Linked DNA regions of Homo sapiens: region 2 is linked to region 1. The links are contacts of gene promoters, found by promoter capture Hi-C in blood cells and fetal thymus (Javierre and others, 2016). All regions are on one chromosome and are shown on one strand. Each heading gives the region's core, a stretch centred on a gene start or on the middle of the fragment in contact. The rest is flanking DNA. Distances are from core to core; before and after follow the strand shown.

What was found. The method cuts DNA at HindIII sites, captures the fragments that hold promoters and counts their contacts. A CHiCAGO score of 5 or more calls a contact.
Region 2: a fragment that was not itself captured here is called in contact with the fragment with the promoter of LY6S-AS1 in region 1 in 3 of 17 cell types (naive CD8 T cells, total CD8 T cells and activated CD4 T cells); the score reaches 6.9 in naive CD8 T cells.

Annotation. Positions count from the first base shown.
Region 1 is chr8:143,033,717-143,040,564 of GRCh38, forward strand. It overlaps LY6S-AS1 (LY6S antisense RNA 1), which reads left to right and starts at 5,493. Exons shown (of 6, transcript NR_149322.1): 1 at 5,493-5,853. RefSeq lists enhancers at 1,642-2,287, 5,165-5,716. The HindIII fragment of the contact is 8,465 bases long and covers 1-6,210 here.
Region 2 is chr8:142,808,299-142,814,644 of GRCh38, forward strand. No RefSeq gene overlaps it. Among named protein-coding and RNA genes, the nearest start is that of GML, 23 kb to the right of the region's middle. The HindIII fragment of the contact is 7,507 bases long and covers 1-5,889 here.

The sequences.
Region 1 (6,848 bases), core at 4,243-6,742:
GTCACGGTGGCTCATGCCTGTAATCCCAGAACTTTGGGAGGCCGAGGCGGGCGGATCATGAGATCAGGAGTTTGAGACCAGCGTGGCCAACATAGTGAAAACCCGTCTCTACTAAAAATACAAAAAAGATTTAGCCAGGCATGGTGGTGTGCGCCTGTAGTCCCAGTTACTCAGGAGACTGAGGCAGGAGAATCGCTTGAACCCAGGAGGCAGAGGTTGTGGTGAGCCAAGGTCGCGCCACTGCACTCCAGCCTGGGCAACAGAGCAAGATACATCTCAAAAAAAAAAAAAAAAAAAAAAACCAGGATGAACGAAAGAAATTAATGGAGGCTGATCATGTCAGCTCACACCTGCAATCCCAGCACTTTGGGAGGCAGAGGTAGGAGGGCTGCTTGAGCACAGGACAACATAGGAGGACCCTGACTTTTTTTTTTTTTCTTTTTTTTTGAGACAGAGTCTTGTTCTGTCACCAGGCTGGAGTGCAGTAGCACGATCTTGGCTCACCGCAATCTCCGCCTTGCAGGTTTAAGTGATTCTCCTACCTCAGCCTCCCGAGTAGCTGGGATTATAGGCACGTGCCACCATGCCAAGCTAATTTTTGCATTTTTAGTAGAGATGGGGGTTTCACCATATTGGCCAGACTGGTCTCAATCTCTTGACCTCGTGATCCACCCACCTCGGCCTCCCAAAGTGCTGGGATTAAAGGCATGAGCCACTGCACTCAGCAACCCTGTCTCTTTAGAGCAAATTTTAAAGCCGGGCGCAGTGGCTCACGCCTGTAATCCCAGCACTTAGGGAGGCCAAGGTGGATGGATCACCTGAGATCAGGAGTTTGAGACCAGCCTGGCCAACATGGTGAAACCCCATCTCTACTAAAAATACAAAAATTAGCCGGGTGTGGTGGCGCACCCCTGTAATCCCAGCTACTCAGGAGGCTGAGGTGGGAGAATTGCTTGAACCCGGGAGGCAGAGGCTGCAGTGAGCCGAGATCGCGCCACTGCTCTCCAGCCTAGGCAACAGAGCAAGACCCCGTCTCAAAGCCAAAAAAAAAAAAATTTTTCAATTTAAAAATTTTTAAAAATAAAACAAATTTTAAAATTAAAAAAAGAAAGGTAACCGACATAGAAAACTGATCACAGCAATTCCAGAACACACACACTTTTCAAGTACACACAAACATCTACAACTATGGATCACATAATGAGCCATGAAAAAGTCTCCACAAATTAATTGAAATCATACAGAGTGGCTTCTCTAATTACAGTTAAATTAGACTAGAAATTATTACCCAAAACAAGAAAATGCTCCTCTGTTTGGAAATGAACAAGTATAGTTATAAATAACGTATATGTCACAGAAGAAATCAAAAGGAAAATAGGATTTCGCTCTGTTGCCGAATGCAACAGGAATGCAGTGGGTCCAATCAAAGCTCACTGCAGCCCTGACCTCCTGGGCTCAAGTGATCCTCCCGCCTCAACCTCCTAAGTAGCTGAGACCACAGGCACGCACCACCACATCTTGCTAGTTTTTAATTTTTTTTTTGAGACGGAGTTTTGCTCTTGTTGTCCAGGCTAGAGTGCAGTGGCACCATCTCGGCTCTGCAACCTCTACCTTCAGGTTCCAGCGATTCTCCTGTCTCAGCCTCCCAAGTAGCTGGGACAACAGGCATGCACTACCACACCTGGCTAATTTTTGTATATTTAGTAGAGACGGGGTTTCACCATGTTGGCCATGGTTGGTCTCGAACTCCTGACCTCAGGTGATCCGCCCTCCTCAGCCTCCCAAAGTGCTGGGATTGCAGGCATGAGCCACCACGCCCAGCCATAACTGCATGCTTTGAGAGAACTGTATCCACTGTTAGGTCTCAGAAACCAATACCCCAAAATATGGCACTTTGACATGCTGAAGAAACTTCAAGAACTTTCTGTCCTCCCCCACAACCCACAGACTCTCCCAAAGTTAGGATGGAGTTCTCTGAAGTTCCTTTGTCTGCCTAAAGTCTGGACTCACCAAGAACAATTGTGTTTTCTTCCCCCTACCCCCAGACAAAGAATGTCACCATACCTGAACAAACCCTTTCACAAGATAATAATGTCTGTCCCTCAGGCCCATTCACATTCCAAAGAGAACTATCTACAAGTTAATCTCCGCTCCCTGCTCCACTGCCCTCAGAATCCTCTTCTCCCCTCATGGCCTGTGTGGCCAGGATGGTCCCTAAGCGTCTGAACCCCGCTGCAGGGTGCGGGATATCGCTCTGCGTTTTCCCCTGTGGACACATTAATACATCTCTGCGCCTTTTCTCCAGTTAATCTGCCTTTTCTGAGTCGCGTTTTCATGGAAATGTCAGGGGTTAAAAGGGAAGATTTCCCACTGGCCCTTACCTTCATACATTAAAAACACATTCAGGCTAGGCACGGTGGCTCATGCCTGTAATGCCAGCACTTTGGGAGGCCAAGGCCGGAGGTCAGGAGTTGGAGACCAGCCTGGCCAACAGGGTGAAACCCTGTCTCTACTAAAAATACAAAAATTAGCTGGGCCTAGTGGCACACACCTGTGATCCCGGCTACTTGGGAGGCTGAGACAGGAGAATCGCTGGAACCCGGGAGGGCAGCTGGACGGGAGGGCAGCTGGAACCCGGGAGGTTGCAGTGAGCCGAGATCGCGCCATTGCACTCCAGCCTGGGTGACAAGAGAGAGACTCCATCTCAAAAAAAAAAAAAGATTCAACATTAATGAATGAAGCATTCATCACAAGAAATTACAGGAAGAACAGCAAATGGAATCCAAAAAAACGGAAGAAAGAAACGAATAAAAGTGACATCAGAAATTAATAATATGGAAATTATGTACATATTAGGATACACAAGTTAGTTATTTCTTTGGATAAACTAAAAACTTTGATAACTCTTGCTTTTTTTTTTTTTTTTTTTTTTTTTTGAGACAGGGTCTCACTCTGTTGCCAGGGCTGGAGTGCAGTGGTGCAATCTCAGCTGACTGCAACCTCCGCCTCCCAGGTTCAAGCAATTCTTGTGTTTCAGCCTCCCAAGTAGCTGGGATTACAGGCTTGTGCACCATGCCCGGCTAATATTTGTTATTTTTTGTAGAGATGAGGTTTCACCATGTTGGCCAGGCTGGTCTCAAACTCCTGACCTAAAATTATCCACCTGCCTCAACCTCCCAAAGTGCTGGAATTACAGGTGTGAGCCACCACGCCCAGCCTTAAAAATGTGGATAATTCTTGTGGGAGACCAGTCAAGAAAAGAAGAGGAGAAAAACAGCCATAATAGCAATGGGGAAAAAATCAGGATCAACAGAGTCTTCAGCCGGGCGCAGTGGCTCACACCTGTAATCCCAACACTTTGGGAAGCCGAGGCAGGTGGATCCCTTGAGCCCAAGGGAGAAATAGCGAAGGGGGACACGTCACACTTTCAAACCATCAGATCTCCTGAGAACTCACTCACTATCACCAGAACAGCAAGGGGGAGGTCTGACCCCACGATCCAATCACCTCCCACGTGGCCCCTCCGCCAATTCCACATGAGATCTGGGCGGGGACACAAATCCAAACCATCTCATCCTGTAACTTCTTTCTCCCTAAAGGGTATAAAATCGAGCTGTACCCCGGCCACCTTGGGCACATGTTCCCCGAACCTCCTGAGTCTCTGTCATGTGAGGTCATGGTCCTCACATTTGGCTCAGAATAAACCTCTTCAAATATTTTAGAGTTTGGCTTTCTTTCATCAACACATCCCATCCTGTAAAACGCAGAGTAAGCCGGAGAGAATGGCTCACACCTGTAATCTCAACACTTTGGGAGACCAAGATGGGAGGATCATTTGAGGCCAGGAGTTCAAGAGACCAGCTTGGCCAACAAAGCAAGACCTCATCTCTAAAAAAAAAATAAGTAAATAAAAACAAATGTGAGTGACTTCACTCTTCTCTCCCAGAGCCTCCAGTTGTCACTTTTCTGAGTTTCTTCAGGGTCTCTTGAACTGTACTCAGGGTGTCAAGAGGTACAGTTGGGAAGGATGGGGGCCTCTAATGAGGGGGTTAAGAGCATCATTCTGGAGGAGACATGAGGGAGGCAGCAGAGAGGGGCTGTGGTGTGGCCTTCACACACTGCAACTCCTGGAGGTCGGGCAGGGGCAGGATGTCCAGACAGTGGACGCATGAGTGGGGAAGCCTTCAGCCACCCTGACTCCACCTAGGAGGTGCCCCAAGGCAGAACCAGCAGCTGAGCCTGGCCAGCCCCGGCAGCGATGAGAGACAGTAGGTTTTGGGGTGACCAACAGGGAGCCCCAGCAGGAGCCCAGCAGGAGAGAGAAGCTGGATATTGATCCTGCTGGCCCCTCCTGCAGTCCGCAGGACTGTCCACAGCCCTCGCTCCTCTTAAGCAGCTCACCTGCCTTGGTGGCCCCTCCCCTCCTGGCCCCTCCTTTTGGGCCTGGGTTGGGGGTGGCAGGGGTCCTGTCCCTGCACCCGGAGTGGAGTGGGATATGGCACTGGAATGTTTCTAGGCAGCCCACTCCTGTAAGAGGGCCTGGGGCTGGGCCCAGTAGTTCACACCTGTAATCGCAGCACTTTGGGAGGCTGAGGCAGGAGGATCGCTTGAGCCTCGGAGTTCGAGAGCAGCCTGGGCAACATAGAGACCCCACTTCTACTTGAGAGACACACAGAGAGAGAGAGAGGGAGGGAGGGAGAGAGGGAGGGAGGGAGAGAGAGAGGGAGGGAGGGAGAGAGAGAGGGAGAGAGGGAGGGAGGGAGAGAGAGAGAGAGAGAGAGAGAGAGAGAGAGAGAGAGAGAGAGAGAGAGAGAGAGAGAGAGAGAGAGAGAGAGAGAGGGAGAGAGAGAGAGAGGGAGGGAGGGAGGGAGGGAGAGAGAGAGGCTTCTGGTAAATGCTCCTATTTTGCAAACTCTCTTCCTATTTTGTGATTAGGATGCTCCATCAGTTTCTGCCACCAGCTTGCTGGAGACGCTGCGTGTCCCTGACTCCTCTCAAAGGGTGAAAAGCTCAGTCGCACCCGAGACCTGCTCCTCAGGCAGAGGATGAACTGAGTCCCCGCCCCACCGCCCGTCTGGCCTCTGTGAGAGTGGCGTGCAGGCTGACCCTGGAAGCAGAGGGACATTCGAACGGGCCGGCGGCCTTCTCCCCGCTAGGCTGGGCTCCGGGGTGGGCGGAGAGTGGCCGCCACAGGCCATCAGCGTCCGGGGTTCTGGAAGCAGGGAGGGCAGAGGCTGGCCCAGCCTATGGGAGACCCTGCAGAGGCGTGGCCTCCAGGCTAATCCTACCCCAGCTGCCCCAGGGCGGGATTTCTTTTCTTTTTTCCTTTAATCTCTTTATCTACAGGCGCCGAGGCTTAATGAGCTCCAGATGTCTCAACATACCAGGAGAGGTTTAGGATCCCCTGCCAAATACAAGGGAGATAAGAACGCACCAGACTTGCACAAACCAGAGCTGGTGACCCCCAGTTCCCTTTAAATCAGCGACATGTCATTACAAGGCGGAAGTCCTGCCCGAGAGGACAGTCCCCAGGCCTTGCTAAGCATGCGTGGTATCAAGAGGTGCATTGAGGCGCTCCTGCAGCCTCCTCCCGGCACGGGACTCCTCACAACCCCCAGCCTCAGCTTCCCTGACAGGGCAGGGGCTCACTCTTCTCCACTCCGGGCCAGGAACGCAGCCTGCTTGCCTTTTGTCCAATTGGGTGCTCTTTCTTTGCGACTGATACAAAGTGGGAACAAACTCCGCTTCCGGTGATGCCCGGGCCCCAGGAGGCTGGGGGAGAAGTGCACGCTGCCCAGCCTTCAACCTGAACTGCCCCCAGCACTTCCGAGCCCCGACCCCTGCAGCTGTGAGGTGAGGTGGGGAGGGGGCGGCCTGCGGGGAGGGGGCTGCCTGCGGGGAGGGGGCTGCCTGCAGGGCGGGCCGTGTGGGTCCCCCGAGCGTGGGGGACCAGTGACGTCAGGCAACATTTCTCCAAAGGCTCCCTCACCTTGTCCTTTGGCATCTGGGGTGCTCAGAGGAAGGGGGAAGCCGGGAGGGTGTGGAGAGGGTCACTGGAGAGGGGAAAGGCCAGAGTGATCCCCTTGGGGACGAGGCAGAGGAAAAGCTGTGGAGACCTAAAGAGAAGAGGTGGGGTGCGCCTGGGCCTCTCAAGTTTGTTTCCCAGAACCAGGGAAGGTTACAGTGGAAGGGAGGACCCTGTGGGGAAGAAGCTTCCAGAGACCTTCTGGAGAGGTGAGCCAAAGGCGAGCCATGGCCAGAAACCCCAGGCCTGCTGCAGTGGAGAGTCAGTGCTGCAGGAGGCTTGGGAATCAGGGCTGCCCTCCTTGGGCTGAACCCTCTATCTAGGGGACAATGGCCCTGGGCAAAAGCACTGCTTTCTGGGCCCCCTGGAGGGTAGGGCATGACACTGTGGTGCTAGAGGCAGGGGGGACATGAGGAGGTAGACGAATGTCCTGAGTCACCAGGTACAACCACTGCACCCCATTGTGACTGCCCCTGTGTCCGACACAGATTTGGGGGGTCTGGAATGTCCCTTGAGCTCCTTAGGCACTCATGAATTTCTAGTTGAGCAAATAAAATGTCCAAGATGCCCAGTTTGATCTGAATCTCAGATAAACAACAAATAGTCATTTTTACCAATGTTTGGGACATACTTATGCTAAAAATTGTTTATCTGAAATTCATATTTAATTGGGCATCTTACCCCATTGACCCTAATTAGCAAATCACATCCAGGAGTACAGGGCATGGCTGGGTGGTGGCTGTCACACTGTGCAGTCAGAGGGACCAGGACGTCTTGGATGCAGGCGTCTGGCCAGCGTGGAAGGCCAGGACCTGGTCACGAG
Region 2 (6,346 bases), core at 886-3,385, 230 kb before region 1:
CAATCTGCACAAGGCTGGGCCCCTTCCGCTGCAGAGGCAGGACAGGGGCTGGGGCGGATGGGTGCCTGTGTGAGTGTGACTGTGTGTGAGGCTGTGTGTGAGTGTAAGACTGTGAGAGTGTGAGTGTATGAGAGTGTGAGACTGAGTTAGTGTATGAGCATGTGTGTGTATGAGTGTGTGTATGAGTGTGAATGACAGTGAGTGTATGAGTGTTAGTGTGAGAATGTGTGAATATGAGTGTGTGTTAGTATAGTGTGAGTGCATGTGTATAAGTATGTGAATGAATGAGTGCATGTGAGTGTGTTAGTGTATGAGCTTGAGTGTGTGTGAGTGTATGGGGATGTGTGAGTGTATGAGTGTGTGAATGACAATAAGTGTATGAGTGTGTGTGAGTGTGTGTGTAAGGTGTGTGTGGATGTAAGTGTGTTAGTATAGTGTATGAGTGTGAGTGCGTGTGTATAACTGTGTGTATGTGAGTGAATGAGTGTGTGAATGAGACTGTGTAAGACTGTGTGTGTGATGCTATGTGTGAGTGTACAAGTGTGCACGAATATGTGTGTGAATGACAGTGTATGAGTGTAAGTGTGAGAGTTGAGTGTGTTAGTGTGAGTGTATGAGTGCATGTATATGAGTGTGAGAGTGAATGTGAAAGTGTGTGTGCAGTGAGTGTATGTGTGTGAAAGTGTGAGTGTCAGTGTATGCGTGTGAGAATGTGAATGAGTGTGAACGAGTGTGTGTGTGTGTGAGTGAGCATAGTGTATGAATGTGAGTGTGCAAGTGTGAGTGTGAGGATGCGAGTGTGGTGCATGTGTATATGTGAGTGAATGTGAGTGTGTGTATAAGTGTGAGAGTGAGTGTGAGAATGTGTGTGAGTGTGTTAGTATAGCATGAGTGTATGAGTGAGAAATGAGTTCATGTGTATGAGTGTGTATGTGAGATTGAATATGAGTGTGAAAGTGTCAGTGAGTGTATGAGTGTGTGTTAGTATGAGGATGTATGTGAGACTGAATGTGTGTGTGACAGTGTGACTAAGTGTGAGAGTATGTGTGTGTGCATAAGTGTGTGTGTGAGAAACAGTGTGAGCGTGTGTGAGAGGGTGTATGAGTGTGTGTGTGAGGGTGTGCGGGTGTATGAGTCTGAGTGTGTGTGTGGTGGGACACACATTAGCATAAATCGTCACAGCCAGATGACACCAGTGGGATGGCAGTTTGCAGTCTGGCTGTGCAGGGCCAGCCGCCGCTTCCTGGAGAAGGCCAGGTGGGCTCGGCTGCATTTTGAAGTACAAGCACAGAGAGGCGGGAACTTGAGAGAGAGGACTAGCTTGTGTAGATGGCACACCAGGGCACAGTGAATCCCAGAAACTCAGTATGGGCATCAGCTGGATTTTACCCCGTGCACACCACGTGCACCCGTGCACAGTTCTCAAACTGTCGTCTATATTCTTGGGAGTGAAAGCTGTTTTTCCTTCAGCAGAAGGCTCTGACAAATGCTCAACTCAATGATTTCTCAAAAGGCCTTTTAGGAGCAAGATTCTGCAGCCCCCACAAGGTGGGCGTATAGGAGAGGGGCCATCCTTCTGGGCTCTCAGGGAAGGCTCCGAGGGAAGAGCTGAGGGCAGGGGCTGCCCTGGGCTGGGCTGGGGGTGGGCGTTGGAATGAAGCCTTGCCGCCCACTGCCAGCTGCCCTACTGCCAGCTGCCCTGGCTTCCTCTGCCTGGGGGAAGGCTTGGGCCATTCCTCTTTAAGCTAATCAGGCATTTTACAAGCCGAGTCCGAGTCTTTTATAAGCTAGGTGTTCTCCAAATACAGCCCAGGCTTTCTCTCAGGGCCATAATTAATGGGGCCTCCCCAGCCTGGCATTAGACTCAACTCCCTAGGGTGGCTGAGAGGGGACTCAGGGATGAGCAGGGCAGGTGAAGGAACAGGGGCACGGGTGAGGTTCCACAGGAGCTACATCCCAGCAAGGAACCTGCCAGCCCGGAGGAGCTCGATCCCGCCTACAGGAAGGGACCTGGGACCCCGGTTAGGAGCCCTAGACCTCTGAGTGAACCAGTGGATGAGTCCTGCTCCCGCTCCCTCCCTCTGAAAGCCCTTCCCTCCCTCCAGCCCTCCCTCCACCCCTCTCTCTTTCCCACCCTCCAGTTTTCTCTGCCCTCCTTCCTCCTTCCCTTCCTCCACCCTATTCCCTCCCTTCACCCCTCCAACCACTCATTTTTCTTTCCTTCCCTTCACGCCTCCCTCCACCCCTCCCTCTTTCTCTCTCTCTTTCCCTCTCTCCACCCCCCCCTCTTTTCCTCCCTCTTTCTTTCCCTCCACCCCTCCCTTTTTCCCTCCTTCCATCCTTCCCTTTCTCTCAGCCTTGCCTCTCTCTAGCCAGTGCAGGGGGCAGGGGCTGGAGGGGCATTAGACCCAGGCCCCAGAATTGCAGTGGGCACATGCCAGCCACACTGAGTCTCTAGAGATTTTCAGGACCTTGTTCTCTTCATGCCCAGTTCGGTAGCTGGAAACCTGCATTCACCTCATAGCAGCCTCTAGCCAATGGGCGGAGGGCATCCCTGTCCTGTCCTCTAGCCAATGGCGGAGGGCATCCCTGTCCTGTCCTCTAGCCAACAGGCGGAGGGCATCCCTGTCCTGTCCTCTAACCAATGGGCGGAGGGCATCCCTGTCCTGGCCTCACAGTGAGGAAGCGCTTCATAGATCACAGCTCAAGGCCCACTCGGGCCACTCCTCCTCCACCTGATGCCTGCAGAGCCCCACAACACCTCCTTGAGGCTGCCCAGGGCCCCTTACGCCCTCTGGGGCCCCCCAGTCACTGGCCCAGAGTGGGTGAGGCCCAAGTGGTGCCCTAGTGGCATGAGCTTGTCCGAGTAGAGGAGGATCCTGGGAGTGTAGCCAGTGCCACCTCCCTGCCCAATTCACACAGGGAAAACTGAGTCCGGGTGCAGGTGGAGGAGTCAGGATTTCAACTAAGGCCCCTAAGCCGGCAGCAAGCGCAGGAAAGGAGCTGTGCTGGGGACTCAGATGCTGGCGTGGGGCTCCCGTGCCCATGTGCCCCATGAGGGCCCCTGTGCCAGGGGAATGTGGGGTCACTCGGGAGTTCACGGCCTGGGCTCGAACCAGAGAGAGGACGCAAGGAATCCCAGTTCCTTCCGCAGGGAGAGATGGGGCCACCTTGAAAGGTATCTACACCCACCAGCCCCAGTTCAGGTCTCAGCCCCACTCATGCCCATGCTGTGGGGTGTTGGGCCAGCCCCTCAATCTCTCCAAGCCTGCAATTGGTTGTCTGAAGAAAAAGAGTGACAGCAATGCTGACCAGCACAGAAGGCTGCTCTGGGGTGGGCTTAGCGGTGGATGGGGAGGCCCAAAACCCAGCCAGCAACCAGCAGTGCCCACCCAGCACCCGTATCTTGACTCCTGACATCCTTCTTCACTCACAGGAATGAGCACTACTTGGAGAAAGGGCTGATTCTAGGGATGGAATGCGGGAACACAAGATGAGCCTGAAGTAGTTTTTTTTTGTTTTTTTTTTGAGACGGAGTCATGCTCTGTCACCCAGGCTGGAGTGCAGTGGCGTGATCTCAGCTCACTACAAGCTCTGCCTCCCGGGTTCACGCCATTCTCCTGCCTCAGCCTCCCGAGTAGCTGGGACTACAGGCGCCTGCCACCACGCCCAGATAATTTTTTGTATTTTTAGTAGAGATGGGGTTTCACCGTGTTAGCCAGGATGGTCTCGATCTCCTGACCTCGTGATCCACCTGCCTCGGCCTCCCAAATTGCTGGGATTACAGGCGCGAGCCACTGCGCCCAGCCAAAGTACCTTTAAAAACAAAACAAAACCAAAACCAAACTTCTTTATTGAGATATAATTCATTTCATGAAACTCACCCATTTAAAGTGAACAGTTCAGTGGTTTCAGTACTGCATAGTTGCAGGGTTGTGCAACCATCACCACAATCTAATTTTGGGATGTTTTTACTCCGAAAAGAAACCTGTGCCCATCAGCCGTCAGTGCCAGCTTCCCTGCTCCCAGCCCCTGGCAACCCCTGCTTCACTTTGCCTCCGTGTGAATTTGTCTGTTCTGCACTTGTCATGCAAAGGGGATCATATACTATGTGGCCTCTGTGTCTGGCTTCTGTCCCTGAGCACCAAGTTCTCAAGGCTCACTGCCTTGTTGCCTATGTCAGTGCTTGATTCCACGGAATGTACTCCATGTGGATAGAGCACATTTGTCTATCGGTTCATCAGTTGAAGGACATTTGGGTTGTGGAAGACCATGTGGGGCCAGAAAAGAAGAAAATCCTAAAAAAAAGACCCAAAATGATGCGGACTGTGAAAGGAATAGATCAGGCAGCTGAAAACCCTTCCAATGGCCAGAGCTGGAACAATTTGAGCAGCAAAATAAATAACAGTATTGGATTATACTCCTGTGCATAAAATAAATGTTTACAAGTCCATAATGATATCAATAAATGATTGAAGAAAGAAGGATATTGGAAAGAAAAGACCAATCTTCTGCATAAGAATTCCAAATAATTTACATAGATACTTTGCTTGAAAAGGTGGAGCTTAAATTGCCACTCCTCAGATGTGGCTGCACTTAGTGACTTCCTTCCAACCATGACAGCATGGAAATAGGGTGGGGGAATGTATGAGTGTGTTTTCACGCTGCTTAGAAGGCATACCAGAGACTGGGCAATTTACAAAAGAAAGAAGTTTAATGGACTTACAGTTCCACGTGGCTGGGAAGGGCTCATAATCATGGCAGAAGGCAAGGAGGAGCAAGTCATGTCTTACAGGGATGGCAGCAGGCAAAGAGAAAGACCTTGCGCAGGGAAACTCCCATTTTTAAAACCACCAGATTTCATGAGACTTATTCACTATCATGAGAGCAGCATGGGAAAGACCTGCCCCCATGATTCAATCACCTCCCTCCAGGCACCTCCCACAACATGTGGGAATTCAAGATGTGATTTGGGTGGGGACACAGTGAAACCGTATCGGGGAAAAAACAGGCTTCTCCTGGTAGGAGAGAAGCCTGGCAGATACAACACCATGGAAGTGGTCAAGGTCAGCATCAACAGTGGTGAATCCCAGTGTCAGTGCCTACTGTTGATGTGGTGACAGAAACAGTGATTCACTTCTGCTTCAGTCTTCTCAAAACGACCATCCCAGTCTAACCACCAGGAAAACACCAGGCAAATTGAGAGACACGCCACAAAATATTCAACCAGTACCTCTGAAAACTGTCGAGGTCACGAAAAACAAGGCAAGTCTGAGAAACTGTCACCGCCCAGAGGAGCCTCTGTAAACATGAGTATGTACCACACAGGCTCTTGGAGGGTAATAGATGAGAAAAAGACATTAGGGGAGAATGAAGCCAATCTGAATCAAGTGTGGATTCAGCTCATAATAATGGGTCAATATTGGTTCATTAATTGTGACAAATGGACCACAGGAATATAAGATGTTGAAATAGGGATTTCGGCTGGGTGAGGTGGCTCACGCCCATTATCCCAGCACTTTGGGTGGCTGAGGTGGGAAGATTACTTGAGCCCAGGAGTTTGAGACAAGCCTGGGCAACATAGTGAGATCCCATCTCTACAAAAAAATGGCAAATTAGCCAGGCATGGGGGTGCATGCCTGTAGTCCCAACCACTTGGCAAGCTGAGGCGGGAGGATCACTTGAGCCCAGGAGGTTGAGGCTGCAGTGAGCTGTGATTGCACCACTGCACTCCAGCCTGGGCAACAGAGTGAGACCTTGTCGAAGAAGAAGAAAAAGAAGGAGAAGGAGAAGATAGCAATAAGGATATCTGGGTGTGGGGAATATAGGAACTGTCTGTACTATCTTTGGCAACTTTTCTGTAAATCTAAAACAATTATAAAAGTAATAAGCTTCTATAAAAAATGTGGCAATGCCTATAGAAGTGAGGGGCTCGATGGTGGGGTTTGTGTGGCTGGCAGAGCTCTTCAGGGCAATCGCCACACTTCCTAGGCCACATGCTTAGAGCAGCTGTTCTCCTGGTCCCCAGAAGACCACATCTTGGGTCTTGTTTGCCATGCAGGCAGTAACATTCTGTCTTTGGTAACCTGAAGAAGACCTGCGAATAGCTTGTCTCAGGAGATAAAATGCCAAGATAATGAAGCTAAGGCCACAGGTCACGCCCTTCAATCATCATTGCACAGTAGACGTTCTCACAGGCATGGCTTGCACCTAGACCCTGGTCACACCCTGAGCCCTGACCCTAGACACACACTTAGGTCTGACCCTGGCTACACACTGAGCCCTGATCGTGCTTCCACTCTGTTTTGACTCTGGACATACATTGAGCCCTGATCCTGGATATATA